Regions from separate parts of the Homo sapiens genome. Here region 2 is linked to region 1. Evidence: promoter capture Hi-C in 16 types of primary human blood cells and fetal thymus (Javierre and others, 2016). All regions are on one chromosome and are shown on one strand. The core of a region is centred on a gene start or on the middle of the fragment in contact, and the rest is flanking DNA. Distances in the headings are between cores, read along the strand shown. Region 1 holds the start of EIF3J (eukaryotic translation initiation factor 3 subunit J). Region 2 overlaps GOLM2 (golgi membrane protein 2).

Region 1 (7,245 bases), core at 2,654-5,153:
GATTACAGGTGTGAGCCACCACGCCTGGCACAAGTTTTACAGACTAAAGGAAGTCCCTAATACATAGGTCTAGAACCTTGTTTTCCTGTTTCCTCATTTGAAAAAGCAGTATGCACACCACTATAAATAAATTCTCAATTTCTGCTTTGAAAACAATGCTGCATACACATAGCCCATGAATTTTTCCATAGCACCTTCAACCCACATGCCCCAGTTTTTTTTTTTTTTTCTTTTCTTTTTTTTTTTTTTGATAGAGTGTCATCCAGGCTGGAGTGCAGTGGCACAATCTCAGCTCACTACAACCTCTGCCTCCTGGGTTCAAACCATTGTCCTGCCTCAACCTCCCAAGTAGCTGGAATTATAGGCATGAGCCACTATACCTGGCTAATTTTTGTATTTTTAGTAGAGACAGGTTTCACCATGTCCAGGCTAGTCTCGAACTACTGACCTCAAGTGATCCACCCACCTCGGCCTCCCAAAGTGCTGGGATTACAGGCATGAGCCACCGCGCCCAGCCTTCTTCTTTTTTTTTGAGAGGGAGTTTCGCTCGTCGCCCAGGCTAAAGTGCAATGGCGCGATCTTAGCTCACTGCAACTTCTGCCTCCCGGTTCAAGTGATTCTCCTGCCTCATCTTCCCGAGTAGCTGGTATTACGGTGCCCGCCAACATGCCCAGCTAATTTTTTTTTTATTTTTAGTAGAGATGGGGTTTGCCACATTGGCCAGGCTGGTCTTGAACTCCTGACCTCAGGTGATCCGCCCGCCTCAGCCTCCTAAAGTGCTGGGATTACAGGCGTGAGCCACTGTGCCCAGCATTTTTTTTTGTTGTTTGTTTTCAGATGGAGTCTCTCCCAGGCTGGAGTGGAGTAGCACAATCTCGGCTCACTGCAACCTCTGTTTCCTGGGTTCAAGCAATTTTCCTGCTTTAGCCTCCTGAGGAGCTGGGGTTACAGGCATGTGCCACCACGCCCGGCTAATTTTTGTATTTTTAGTGGTCTTGGGGTTTCATCATGTTGGCCAGGCTGGTCTTGAATTACTTCAAATGATCTGCCTGCCTCAGCCTCCCTAAGTGCTGGGATTACAGGCGTGAGCCCGTAATAGGCGTGCCTAACCAGTTTTCAGGTTTTTGACTTAAGCAACTAGATAAGTGTCACTCAATATCCAAAGGCATCGTCTATCTATTTCTCCCTTCCCCTCCTCCTTCATATCTAGTCAGACACTATATTAGTACGGGTTCTCCAGAGAAACAGAATCAATAGGATGTGTATATGCAGAAAGAGATTTATTTTAAGGAATTGGCTCACATTATTCTGGGAGCTGGCAAGTCTGAAATCTGCAGGGCAGACAAACAGCCTGGAGACCCAGGGAGATTTGACGCTGCAGTCTGGAGGCTGAATTGCTTCTTCTTAAGGGTCTCGTTTTAATTTGAACTGACCGGATGCGGCCCACCCTCATTATAGAGGGTAATGTACTTTAATCAAAGTCTGCTGATTTAAATGTTAATCACATCTAACAAATACAATTCATAGCAACAACTAGACTAGTGTTTGACCAAAAACTGAGTAACATGGGTAGCATCGCCTAGCCAAGTTGATAGATAAAATTAACCATTAAAGTCACTAAGTTCCATTGACAATGACCTTTAAATATTTCTCAAGTTGGTTTCTTCTTCTCCATTGCCATTGCCTTAATTTAGGCTTGTGTTCTCGTTTAATTAATTCATAAAATACTTACGTATTAGGCATTATGCCAAATGTTGGAGATACAATTGTGAGTAAGATTGTGTCCTTAGGGACTTACATTCCACCCTTTTCCTGACTTCTTTCTTGCCTCCTTCCAATCCACATTTTTTTTTTTTTTTGGTCTTGTCACTTTGATGCCCAGGCTGGAGTGTAGTGGCCAGAACGTGGCTCACTGCAGCCTCAACTGCCTCAGCTTCCTGAGTAGCTGGGACCACAGGACCACAGGTGCACACCACTATGCCTGGATATATATATTTTTTTGTAAAGATGGGGTCTCACCATGTTGGCCAGGTTGGTCTCGAACTCCTGGGCTCAAGCGATCCTCCCGCTTTGGCCTCCCACAGTGCCGGGATTACAGACGTTGAGCCACCGTGTCCGGCCCTGATCCACCTTTATAAATGGCTGTCTGTAGATCATGGCCTCTCACATTTTAACTGGGCTGTAGAATATGTATTGAAGGATCATCTTTATAAAATGTTTATTTGTAGACTCTGAAAAGATAACACCAGAAAGGGGGAACAATGGTTACCACTAGAAAGAACGGAGCGGAGCAGCTGATCGTTGTATCTACCTTTTTTGTTTTTTTTTTTTTTTTGAGACGGGTCTAACTGTCGCCCAGGCTGGAGAGCCGTGGCGCGATCTCGGCTCACTGTTGCAACCTCCGCCTCCCGGGTTCAAGCGATTCTCCTGCCTCAGCCTCCCTAGTAGTGGGGATTACAGGCGCCCGCCACCACGCCCAGGTGATTTTTGTATTTTTAGTAGAGGTGGGGTTTTACCATGTTGGCCAGGCTGGTCTCGAACTCCTGACAGCAAATGATCCGCCCATCTCGGCCTCCCAAAATGCTGGGATTACAGGCGTGAGCCACCGCGTCCTGCCCACGTATCTACCTTTTTATCACATGAATGTTGTACCAAGTTCGCGTATTACATATTTGAAAATAAATTGCGAAAATAACAAAAACAAAATCCATCTACTGGCTAGCTCTTTAAAATCCTGCGGGGGAGCCCAGTGGCCCAACGGCGAAGTTTAGCCCATCTTGCCCTTTCTGGTCAGTGTACCTGTTCCATTTATCTCTGACTGCGCCACTCAGTCAGGTGAGGGACCACTGGAGTTTTCTACCGGAAATGCACTTCAGCAAATGCCACTTGCTCTCTCCAACTTCAGTTTCAACCAGCGCCTACCTCAGGAAGCCTTCCTTCATCCTCCGGCCCCCGCCGCCGCTAAGGTTATCCTTTTACATTCAACCTCATAATGCTGCTTTTTGTGGCAGTCATCACAGTGTCGAAATTTGTTTACATGTCCATCTTTGCTACTTGATGGAGGGCAAAGATACACCTCATACCTAGCATAGACCCCAGGAGGTCCGAAATTGTTCTGCGAAAGAAAAAAAAATCAATGTGCTGGCCTCAAAGGGGCTCACAGGAAGGGAAAAGCCTCGAAGACTAAGGCTCTCTTCGATTCCTTCGTGACTAACTCGAGGCAAACATGCCAGGAACGCGGCTCTCCCCACCCGCTCCTGCATCTGCGCCCGGGGATCGCCGGATTCCAGAGGGGTCCCCTCCACCTAGCGCGCGACGACTCCCTCTGGGGTCCCGGAAGCCCGGCCACCGACCCCACAGGCGGGCGTGGCCTCAGAGCCCTCTTCTGAGCACGGCGTGGGTATCCGCAGGCGGCCATGGACGGTGATCACAGTGACCAGAGGGACAGCGCACCCTCCGGTCGAAGCGGGGTAGGCGTTGGCAGGGGAGGGGCGACGAAGACTGGCGAGGTTCAGGCGCCAGCCAAAGAACCACTCTGCTAACTTCCTGGCACTTACGTTTCCTACCCGGGGCCCAGAGTCGGGCGGCGGTCTTCCAGCACCACGAACTCCAGTACTGGTCTGCGTTGTAGGGAGCTGGAAGCCCGACCCAGCACTCCTCAGCCCCCTGTGCCCCTCCCTCTGCTCTTTCCGCCCCTCCCTCCGCCCCCCTCCGCCCCCCCCTCCGCCTCTCCCTCAGCCCCGCAGCGCCACCGACCGCGTTCCCCGCCCACTTCTTACCCGCGCGCGTCGCCGCCGCCGCCTGAGGGGGCGTGGCCTCGGCTCGGCGCACAGTCAGCCACGGTCCCATCCTGCTCCGCGCCGGTCAACGAGAGCAAACCCAGTGACTCACCTCCGCCGTGCTAACTCCTCGCTAGCTCTCCCTCTCACACACGCTCACACCCGGCTCGAGATGGCGGCGGCGGCGGCGGCGGCGGGGGACTCGGACTCCTGGGGTGAGGAGAAGTTGCTGGGGCAGGGCCCGGGCCGGCGCCGGCCCCACGCAGTGGCAGGCACTAACACGGCTCGCTTTCTTCCGTAGACGCCGACGCTTTCTCCGTGGAAGACCCAGTGCGGAAGGTGGGGGGCGGCGGCACTGCCGGCGGGGACCGCTGGGAAGGCGAGGACGAGGACGAGGACGTCAAGGTGGGTGCGGGCTAGGGCGCCGGGCAGCGCGGAAGCGGGCTGGCGCTGTTGCCGGCCGACTCTGGGCCCCGGGTCGCTGCCGGGGCCTGCGGGCCGTGGGTCCAGGCGCGAGCATAGGGCCTGGCGGTGCTCTCTTCCCCTCCGCTTGCCGGCCATGTGTGGGCCGAAGACTGGCAGCGTGGCCTCCCGGACTCCCTCGCCGGTTGAGAGTCTGCTCTCCGGCGTGGATCCCACCCGCCGGCTGGCGACGAAAGGTGACAGCATCGGCCGGGTCGGCCCACGTGCAAGCTTCGCGGTCCGGAGCCTCTCGCAGGAATGAGACCGGGAAGTTGGGAATTGAGCCTTGTAGCTTATCCATATGGAAAGCCTTGAGACTCGCCTGTCTTTTCGAGCTCAAGTCAGCCCAGGGCCAGTAACTCATTTATGACCCTGAGGTCTACTTATACAGTTTGTTCGAGGGATTAGATGAGTGAAATATTGTAGTTGAATTTCAACCTTTTTTTCCCACACGAGACAGCTAGAAACAGTAAAGGGAAATAACTTTTGGCTCTCCCTTCCCCCACCCTGTGGTAAAAAGAATGAACTGACCACTGAGATAGCCCGCAGTTAGTGGACAGAAACCCAGGTAGTTCACACCGTGACCTGAGAAATGGAGAGACGACAGTTACTCAACTACACACATACGACACCTAAGGAAATATTGAAGATTTGGTGGTGGTTGTAGATGACGGGCCCGTGGTTTTTTGTTGTTGTTGTTGTTTTGTCTGTGCCTTGTAGATAATCATTTTTACCTCAGTCGTTTGATTTTGAAAACTCCGAAGGGTTCATTATACAGCTGTAAGTGACATTTACTTCTACATGGTTTTTTTTTTTTTTTACAGTAGTTACAGAAGTCTCAAATCCAAAATGTTAAGACTCTTATTAACAAAGTTCTCAAAATCTTGTTATATTTGTGCAGATAAAGTTTTGTGTGAAATGGAAAATGATTTTTTTTTGTGGTTTTGCCTAATTTAGTGAATTTCTCCTAATTTATAAACACAAACGGAGAACCCTATAAATCCTGCCTGGGCTGAAAAGTTTAAGCTAGATAATCACTATGAACTTAATAGGAATGTTGTTTTGAGTTTTTCTGTTCTCTCCCCAGTCCGATGAGGTTGGATGTGTGGATGTCCGATTTACTGACAGCCTGAGGTTCAAGAATGTTGTGAGCTTTGCACACATTGAAGTTAATAAATCGACTGGTTATTGTTTGAAGACACTCAGATGCTTTATTTACATGTTGTAGAAACATGGGACTAGATTTTGTTACCAGCCGCATTACAAGATATTAGTTACCCCTCTACATTGTAGCAGATTTTCAGTTTTGAGCCTTGGGTTCATATTGGTCCTTTCATTTTTTTCCATGCATATAGGAAGTGGCAGTTAAGACATCTGTTATGAAATTTGGGAATAAATTAACAAATGCAGAGAAAAGATTAGAGATATTAGGAAAGAAGTTGCAGAAAATGAAGTTTTAATGGATAGTCTAGACTAATGTCATGGAATAACTTCCTTGGGATTAAGGGATCTAAATGGTATCGATCTTGATGAATATAATTCTTTTTTTTTTTTTTTTTGAGATGGAGTTTCGCTCTTGTTGCCCAGGCTGGAGTGCAATGGCGCGATCTTGGCTCACTGCAACCTCCACCTCCTGGGTTCAAGTGATTCTCCTGCTTCAGCCTCCCAAGTAGCTGGGATTACAGGCACGCACCACCACGCCTGGCTAATTTTGTATTTTTAGTAGAGACGGGGTTTCGCCATGTTGCCCAGGCTGGTCTTGAACTTCTGACCTCAGGTGATTCTCCTGCCTTAGCCTCCCAAAGTGCTGGAATTATAGGCGTGAGCTACCGTACCCAGCCTCTGATGAATATAATTCTGATCACTTGGAACAAGTTTTGGATATTTACAAGTTGTAAGGGACCACAAAGATTATCTTGTCCAGTTGCTCTTTTTTTTTTGGAAATGGAGTCTCGCTCTGTCACCCAGGCTGGAGTGCAGTGGCACAATCTCCGCTCACTGCAAGCTCCGCCTCCCAGGTTCACTCCATTCTCCTGCCTCAGCCTCCCGAGGACTACAGGTGCCCACCACCACGCCCGGCTAATTTTTTCTATTTTTAGTAGAGACGGGGTTTCACCGTGTTAGCCAGGATGGTCTCAATCTCCTGACCTTGTGATCTGCCCGCCTTGGCCTCCCAAAGTGCTGGGATTACAGGCGTGAGCCACCACACCCGGCCCCAGTTGCTGTTTTAGTGCTAAATTTCTTTTTCTTTTTTTTTTTTTTTTTTAACTTAAAGCAATCTATCTATTCATCTAATTTTTTGAGAGAAGGTCTCACCCCGTTTCCCAGGCTGGAGTGCAGTGGCACGATCTCTGCAACCTCCGCCTCCCGGATTCAAGTGATTCTCCAGCCTCAGCCTTTCTAGTAGCTGGGATTACAGGTGTGCACCGCCGTGCCCAGCTAATTTACATATTTTTTTCTTTTTTTTTTTTTTGAGATAGAGTCTTGCTCTGTCACCCAGGCTGGAGTGCCGTGGCACGATCTTGGCTCACTGCAACCTCCGCCTCCCAGGTTCAAGCAGTTCTCTGCCTCAGCCTCCCGAGTAGCTGGGATTACAAGCGCCCACCACCACACCCAGCTAATTTTTGTATTTTTAGTAGAGACGGGGTTTCACCATCTTGGCCAGGCCGGTCTTGAACTCCTGACTTCGTGATCCACCCGCCTCGGCCTCCCAAAGTGCTGGGATTACAGACGTGAGCCACCGCGCCTGGCTATATATATATATATATATATATATATATATATTTTTTTTTTTTTTTTGTAGATACAGGGTTTCGCCATGTTACCTAGGCTGGTCTCAAACTCCTGAGGTCAAAGTGATCTTCCCGCCTCGGCCTCCCAGAGTGCTGGGATTACAGATGTGAGCCACTGCACCTGACCTATTTATTTTGAGACGGATTTGTGAGACTGGCTAATTTTTGTGTTTTTGGTAGAGGTGGAGTTTCGCCAAGTTGCCCAGGCTGGT
Region 2 (7,076 bases), core at 1,759-4,258, 240 kb before region 1:
ACCTTTGTCTCCCACTATCTCCTGACCCAAATTGTATTTCAGGCTGATTGTTTTGCTTACTTTTGCCTTCCCACCTGCCTTTCTGTGTCATGTTAATTCCTGTTTCTGTGCCTTTGTTCCTGCTGTTTGACTCTTAGTTTCTTGCCTCTTTTCTGTATATTTATTATACCAATTTTTTTTTGTTTTTTTTTTTTTAATTGAGGCAGAGTCTTGCTCTGTCGCCCAGGCTGGAGTGCAGTGGTGTGATCTTGGCTCACTGCAAGCTCCGCCTCCCGGGTTCACACCATTCTCCTGCCTCAGCCTCCTGAGTAGCTAGGACTACAGGCACCCGCCACCAGGCCCAGCTAAATTTTTTGTATTTTGAGTAGAGAAGGGGTTTCACCATGTTAGTCAGGATGGTCTCCATCTTGATCTCCTGACCTCATGATCCACCCGCCTTGGCCTCCCAAAGTGTTGGGATTACAGGTGTGAGCCACCGCACCTGGCCTTTTTTTTTTTTTTTTTTGAGATGGAGTCTTGCTCTGTTGCCCAGGCTGCAGTACAGTGACGCAATCTTGGCTCATTGCAACCTCCGCCTCCCGGGTTTAAGCGACTCTCCTGCCTCAGCCTCCTGAGTAGCTGGGATTACAGGCACGCACCACCAGGCCTGGCTAAATTTTTTTGTATTTTTAATAGAGATGGGGTTTCACCATGTTGGCCAAGCTGGTCTCGAACTCCTGACCTTGTGAACCGTCCACCTTGACCTCCCAAAGTGCTGGGATTACAGGCATGAGCCACCACACCTGGCCTATTCTACCAATCTTTTATCCAGCTTCTGATCCATGTCCACTATGAAGCCCCCTGGGACTTCTGACCTGGAATATGCTTTTCCTTCTTTTCTTTTTCTTTTTTTTTTTTTTTGAGATGGAGTTTTGCTCTTGTCGCCCAGGTTGGAGTGCAATGGCGCGATCTCAGCTTACTGCAACCTCCGCCTCCCAGGTTCAAGTGATTCTCTAGCCTCAGCCTCCCAAGTAGCTGGGATTATAGGCACCCACCACCATGGCCGGCTAATTTTTTTTTTTTTTTTTGTATTTTTAGTAAAGATGGGGTTTTACCACATTGGCCAGGCTGGTCTCGAACTCCTAACCTCAGGTGATCCACCCACCTGGGCCTCCCAAAGTGCTGGGATTACAGGTGTGAGCCACTGCTCCCAGCCATGCTTTTCCTTCTTTATACACCATTTACATTTATTGTTTGAGCTTCATTAACTTATTTTGTTCATTTTTTACTAATAGCTTATTGTTTGTGAACTTCGTTTTCTCAACGAAATTTTAAGTTCCTTGAGGAAGGACTATGTTTTAAATTTTTTCCTGCGGGAAAAATTGTTCTTAGTGCTGTTACAAAATGTACGAGGTTGATTTGTATCCCCTAAAAGGATATATTGAAGTCTAAATCACCTGTGAATGTTATCTTAGTTTGGGAATAGGGTCTTTGCAGATGTAATCAAGTTAAAATGAGGTCATACTGGATTAGGGTGGCCCCTATTCCATTATAACTGGTATCCTTATAAGAAAAAAAAATAGAATTAGGGAGAACACCAGGTGCATGAATACACAGAGACACACAGACACATTGCAGAGACCGCATGGCAGATAAAGGCAGAGATTGGAGTTATGTTTCCACAAACCAAGGAATGCCCAGGGCTACCAGAAGCCAGAAGCCAGGAGCCTCCCCCTAGAGGCTCCAGTGGGAACAGGGCTTTGCCAACACCTTGATTTTGGACTTCTAGCCTCTGAAACCATCCTCTAGCACTGTGAGACAATACATTTCTGCTTTATGCTATTCAGTTTGTGGCACTTTGTTATATCAGCCTAGGAAACAAATACACAAATGCATACTTAAAAGTTAATTTGATTTTTTGACTAGATAATTGTTTTTGTTTTTTTTTTTTGAGACAGAGTCTCGCTCTGTCGCCCAGGCTGGAGTGCAGTGGCGCGATCTCAGCTCACTGCAACCTCCACCTCCCGAGTTCAAGTGGTTCTCCTGCTTCTTCCTTCCGAGTAGCTGGGATTACAGGCACGCACCACCACACCCAGCTAAATTTTGCATTTTTGATAGAGACAGTGTTTCACCATATTGGCCAGGCTGGTCTTGAACTCCTGACCTCAGGTGATCCGCCCGCCTCGGCCTCCCAAATTGACTAGATAACTACTCTTATATAATATATACTGTGTGGCAGTATGGTTCACTGGAAAGAACAAGGGTTTTTGGAGTCAAACAGACTTGAGTTTATAATTCTACCATTATGTTACCTCTCCTTAAGCCTGTTTCTTCACTCATAAAATGAAGAGGATTCATGAAGTAAAATATTTAGAGGCCTGTCCCATACAAAGCTTGACATTTAATAATATTGGTTCCTTTCTTTCATGGGTGCATTGGTATAGCTAATCTTGAAGAAATTTGGGGCTAGGTGTAGTGGCTCATGCCTATAATCCCAGCACTTTGGGTGGCTGAGGCAGGAGGATCATGTGAGGCCAGGAGGTTGAGGCTAGCCTGGGCAACATAGCAAAAAAAAAAAAAAAAAAAAAAAAAAAGCTGGGCATGGTGACACATGCCCATAGTCTTAATTGCTTGGGAGGTTTAAGCTGGAGGATCACTTGAGCCCAGGAGTTTGAAGCTGCAGGGAGCTATGATTGTGCCACTGTGCCCTAGCCTGACAACAGAGCAAGACCCTGTCTCAAAAAAAGAAAGAAAAGGAAAAAAGAAAAGAAGAGAGGAGAGGAGGGGAGGGGAGGAGGAAAGAGAAGGAAGGAAGGAAGGGAGGGAAGGAAGGAGGGAAGGAGAGAAAGAGGAAGAAAGAGGGAGAGGGAGAGGGAAGAAAGAAAAGAAAGGAAGAAGGGAGGGAGGAAGGAAGGAAGAAGTTTAGTCTTGTATTATTCTATTGAAACCCAAGTATATTAATTCAGTTGACAAAAATTTATTAAATATATTGGGCACTTACTGTGCTATACACTAAAATGATCTTTGAAACAAGTTTTCACTTTTCTTTGTCTCCCTTTCTTATTTTTGTATTTCTCTGTTTTTTCTTACTCTCCTGATAAAGGACTGAGTAATCTCAGGAGGTTCCATGAAGATCATAAAACAAGCTGCTTTTTGAAAAATGATGACTAGGATTTAGTTGTGCAGAAAAAAGGTAAAAGGACATTCAAGGAGCTCCCTTTTACTTACTCCATAGAGGCAAACAAACAGTTCTTATAGTGTGGCATGTAACATCTGTCTCCTGAAGTGACAGGGAGTACCTTTTGACTTATGACCTCATTAAACAGGAGGAACTAGTCCTTACAATTTTTGGTTGAAGACCTTAAAGTTCCCCATGTTAGCCTCTTCCTCAAAAGAGAGTTAAAGTTTCCTTGAATTCAAAGTCCAGGCTTTTTTCTAGGGACAGACTGGGCATGCAGTAATTTCAGTTTCTCACAGTGCTTCAAGGCTCTCTTTCTTGTTCTTAATTAACTTTATCTAATTTTCTTACACTGTTTCTGGCCAGGTAGTTCCTCTTTTGAACAATGTTGCCACAGAGCTTTTGCTCAGATGCTTTTAATGTCTGATTCTTTCTCTTTTCCAAACTACACTTTTTCCCTGAGGATGACTTCAAAACTTACATCCACGAAGCTTTTTCTATTTAATATAAAATGATTTGCTTTCCTTTTACAATTTCAATTTTCTATATCCAATTTAAGTTCAACTTAGGGGAACATTTTTTCTCATTTGATGATTAACAAAGGCCTCTCATAGCTCACTGCAGCCTCAGACTCCTGGCCTCAAGTGATCCTCCCGCCTCAGCATCTCAAAGTGCTGGGATTACAGGCATGAGCCACCATGCCTGGCTACATTTTCACTCTTAAACTTGACTCTCTATAGCATTTTATACTGATGATCTCTCCTTTCTCTCCTTTTTGAAACTTCTTCCCTTTAGCTTTAATAATACCCATTTATCTTGGTTATCCTATCATTTTCCCACTCAATGTTTACATATGCTGTGCTTCCATCTTTAACCCCATTTTAATTTCTTTATTGAACAAATATGTTCAAGTTTCTATTTTGGATCAGTTACTATGCTGCATGCATATCACATAGTGAATGAGTGAACAAGACAGATATGGTATACATTGACTATGGAACTTACCCTTGAGCAGGGGCTATGAGGGGAAGACCTAACCTATTTTAGAGGCTTAGGGATGACATTCTTGAGAGTTTTAGTTGAGTCCTAAAAAAAAGATCAGGATTTAATGAGGCAAAGATTGAGTGAGAGGTTTGAGATAAGAGGCTCAGGAGAGATGAAAAGAGGGTTCCAGATGTAGAATGTTGCATATTTTATTTTATTGCATATTTTAAAGCACAGGATATCAGCCGGGTATGGTGCCACATGCCTATAATCCCATTTACTCGGGAGGTTGAGGCAGGAGAATTACTTGAATCCAGGAGGCAGAGGTTGCAGTGAGCCAAGATCATGCCAAGTGCACTCCATCCTGGGCTACAGAGGGAGACCCTCTCTCAAAAAAAAAAAAAAACTTAGGAGCCAAGGTCATGGCACCACTGTACTCCAGGCTGGGCAACAGAGTGAGATCCTATCTCAAAAAAAAAAGTTCACCATGTGGAATGAGGGAGCTAGAATGAGTGTGATAATATTTGATGTTGCACTACAAGACTGGATTCAGATTGTGAAAAGATTTGTGAGTCATGTTAAGGGCAATAGGAAGCCATTGATTGACTCTCTTTTTTACATTTAATTTTTTTTTTTTTTTTGAGATGGAGTCTTACTCTGTTGCCCAGGCTGGAGTGCAGTGTCACGATCTTGGCTCACTGCAACCTCTGTCTCATGGGTTCAAGCGATTCTCCTGCCTCAGCCTCCCAAGTAGCTGGGACTACATGCACATGCCACCACACCCAGCTAATTTTTGTATTTTTAGTAAAGACAGGGTTTTGCCATGTTGACGAGGCTGGTCTCAAACTCCTGGCCTCAAGTGATCTGTTCACCTCGGCCTCCCAAAGTGCTGGGATTATAGGCATGAGCCACCACGCCTAGTGGTTCTAGTTTTTTTCTTGTCTTCCAATGATATATTGTGAATTTTCTTTCTTTCCTATTTTTTTTGAGATGGGGTCTCACTCTGTTGCCCAGGCTATAGTGCAGTGTCACCATCTCAGCTCACTGCAACCTCCACCTCCTAGATTCAATCGAGCTTCCTGCCTCAGCCTCCCAGGTAGCTGGGACTACAGGTGCACAGTACCACACCCAGCTAATTTTTATTTTTTTTGTAGAGATGGGGTTTCATTGTGTTGCCCAGGCTGGTCTTGAACTCCAGGACTTAAGTGATCTGCCGGCCTTGGCCTCCCAAAGTGTTGGGATTACAAGCATGAGCCACCATATCCAGCCTGTGAATTTCTTGACTATAAAAATATAGTCTAGGCTGGGCGCAGTGGCTTACACCTGTAATCCCAGCGCTTTAGGAAGCTGAGGTGGGCGTATCACGAGGTCCAGAGGTCAACACCATCCTGGCCAACATGGTGAAACCCCGTCTCTACTAAAAATACAAAAATTAGCCGGGCGTAGTGGCGGACGCCTGTAGTCCCAGCTACTTGGGAGGCTGAGGCAGGAGAATCAATTGAACCTGGGAGGCAGAGGTTGCAGTGAGTGGAGATCGCGCCACTGCACTCTAGCCTGGGCGACAGAGCAATACTCCATCTCAATAAATAAATAAATAAATAAATAAATAAATAAATAAATAGTCTAAATCTAGTATAAATCTAACACTTAATATTTCATACTATTCCCTATGTCTGGACTCAGTAAATATTTGATGATTGATTTAGCAATTTGTATTGCTTCTTGAACCAACGGGTGCATAAATATGTACTAGGGCTACCACAGATATTATCCACATATCTGATTGCACTACCTTTTCTGGAAGACATAACTAAAATATTCAGATGTAAAACTACTGCTTGTCAACTCATCTTTCTAGTATACATAGAATATATCTTTTATTTGAAACGTGTTATAGTAGATCTAGAATAATATTTTATTCATTTAGAAACTCAAAAATATTTTTCTGATTCAATTTAGTGTTTAAGTGAAGAGAACAAAACCTTGGGATTAGCTTCATGGGGATATAATGAAAAAAAGTTTGAGTTATAAGCATAGCTTGGATTTTTGTTTGTTTTTTTTGGTGACAGGGTCTCATTCTGTCACCCAGGCTAAACTGCAGTGGCATGATCATGGCTCACTGCAGCCTTGACCTTCTGGACTCAAGCAATCCTCCTGCCTCAGCATCTGGAGCAGCTAGGACTACAAACTTGTGCCATCACACCTGGCTAATTTTTTTTTTTTTTTTTTTTTTGAGACAGAGTCTCGCCCTGTCACCAGGCTGGAGTGCAGTGGTGTGATCTCAGCTCAACGCAACTTCCACCTCCCAGGTTCAAGCAATTCTCGTGCCTTAGCCTCCTGAGTAGCTGGGATTACAGACATGCACCACCAGGCCTGGCTGATTTTTGTATTTCAGTAGAGACAGGGTTTTGTTGGCCAAGTAGGTCTCAAACTCCTGACCTTAAGTGATCCGCCTGACTCGGCCTTCCAAAGTGCTAGGATTACAGGTGTGAACCACGGTGCCTGGCCACACCTGGCTAATTTTAAAATTTTGTAGAGATGTGGTCTTGCTATGTTCCCCAGGGCTGGTCTTGAACTCCTGGCCTCAAGTAATCCTCCCACCTCAACCTCCCAAAGTCCTGGGATTACAGGCATAAACCACCATGCCTGGCCTATTCAAGTTTTATCATGAGATTGCAGTAATTCAGTCACGTCTTCAGGCTCCACTTCTTTTTTTTTTTTTTTTTTTTTTTTTTTTTGAGACAGAGTTTCACTCTTGTGTCAAGGCTGGAGTGCAATGGCATGATCTCGGCTCACTGCAGCCTCCGCCTCACAGGTTCAAGCAATTCTCTTGTCTCAGCCTCCTGAGTAGCTGGGATTACAGGCGCCCACCACCACACCTGGCTAATTTTTGTACTTTTAGTAGAGACAGGGTTTCACCAGGTTGGCCAGGCTG

What was found. The method cuts DNA at HindIII sites, captures the fragments that hold promoters and counts their contacts. A CHiCAGO score of 5 or more calls a contact.
Region 2: a contact is called between a fragment that was not itself captured here and the fragment with the promoter of EIF3J in region 1, in 1 of 17 cell types (erythroblasts). The highest score is 5.8, in erythroblasts.

Annotation. Positions count from the first base shown.
Region 1 is chr15:44,533,244-44,540,488 of GRCh38, forward strand. It overlaps EIF3J (eukaryotic translation initiation factor 3 subunit J), which reads left to right and starts at 3,904. Exons shown (of 8, transcript NM_003758.4): 1 at 3,904-3,994; 2 at 4,081-4,184. The coding sequence starts at 3,952. EIF3J-DT (EIF3J divergent transcript) reads right to left here and starts at 3,680. Exons shown (of 2, transcript NR_034170.1): 1 at 2,800-3,680; 2 at 1,262-2,231. RefSeq lists enhancers at 2,572-3,359, 3,047-3,496 and silencers at 3,667-3,836, 4,027-4,336, 4,357-4,406. The HindIII fragment of the contact is 7,095 bases long and covers 1-4,470 here.
Region 2 is chr15:44,297,381-44,304,456 of GRCh38, forward strand. The region is part of intron 1 of GOLM2 (golgi membrane protein 2); the gene reads left to right. Among named protein-coding and RNA genes, the nearest start is that of GOLM2, 12 kb to the left of the region's middle. RefSeq lists a silencer at 3,091-3,385. The HindIII fragment of the contact is 1,276 bases long and covers 2,371-3,646 here.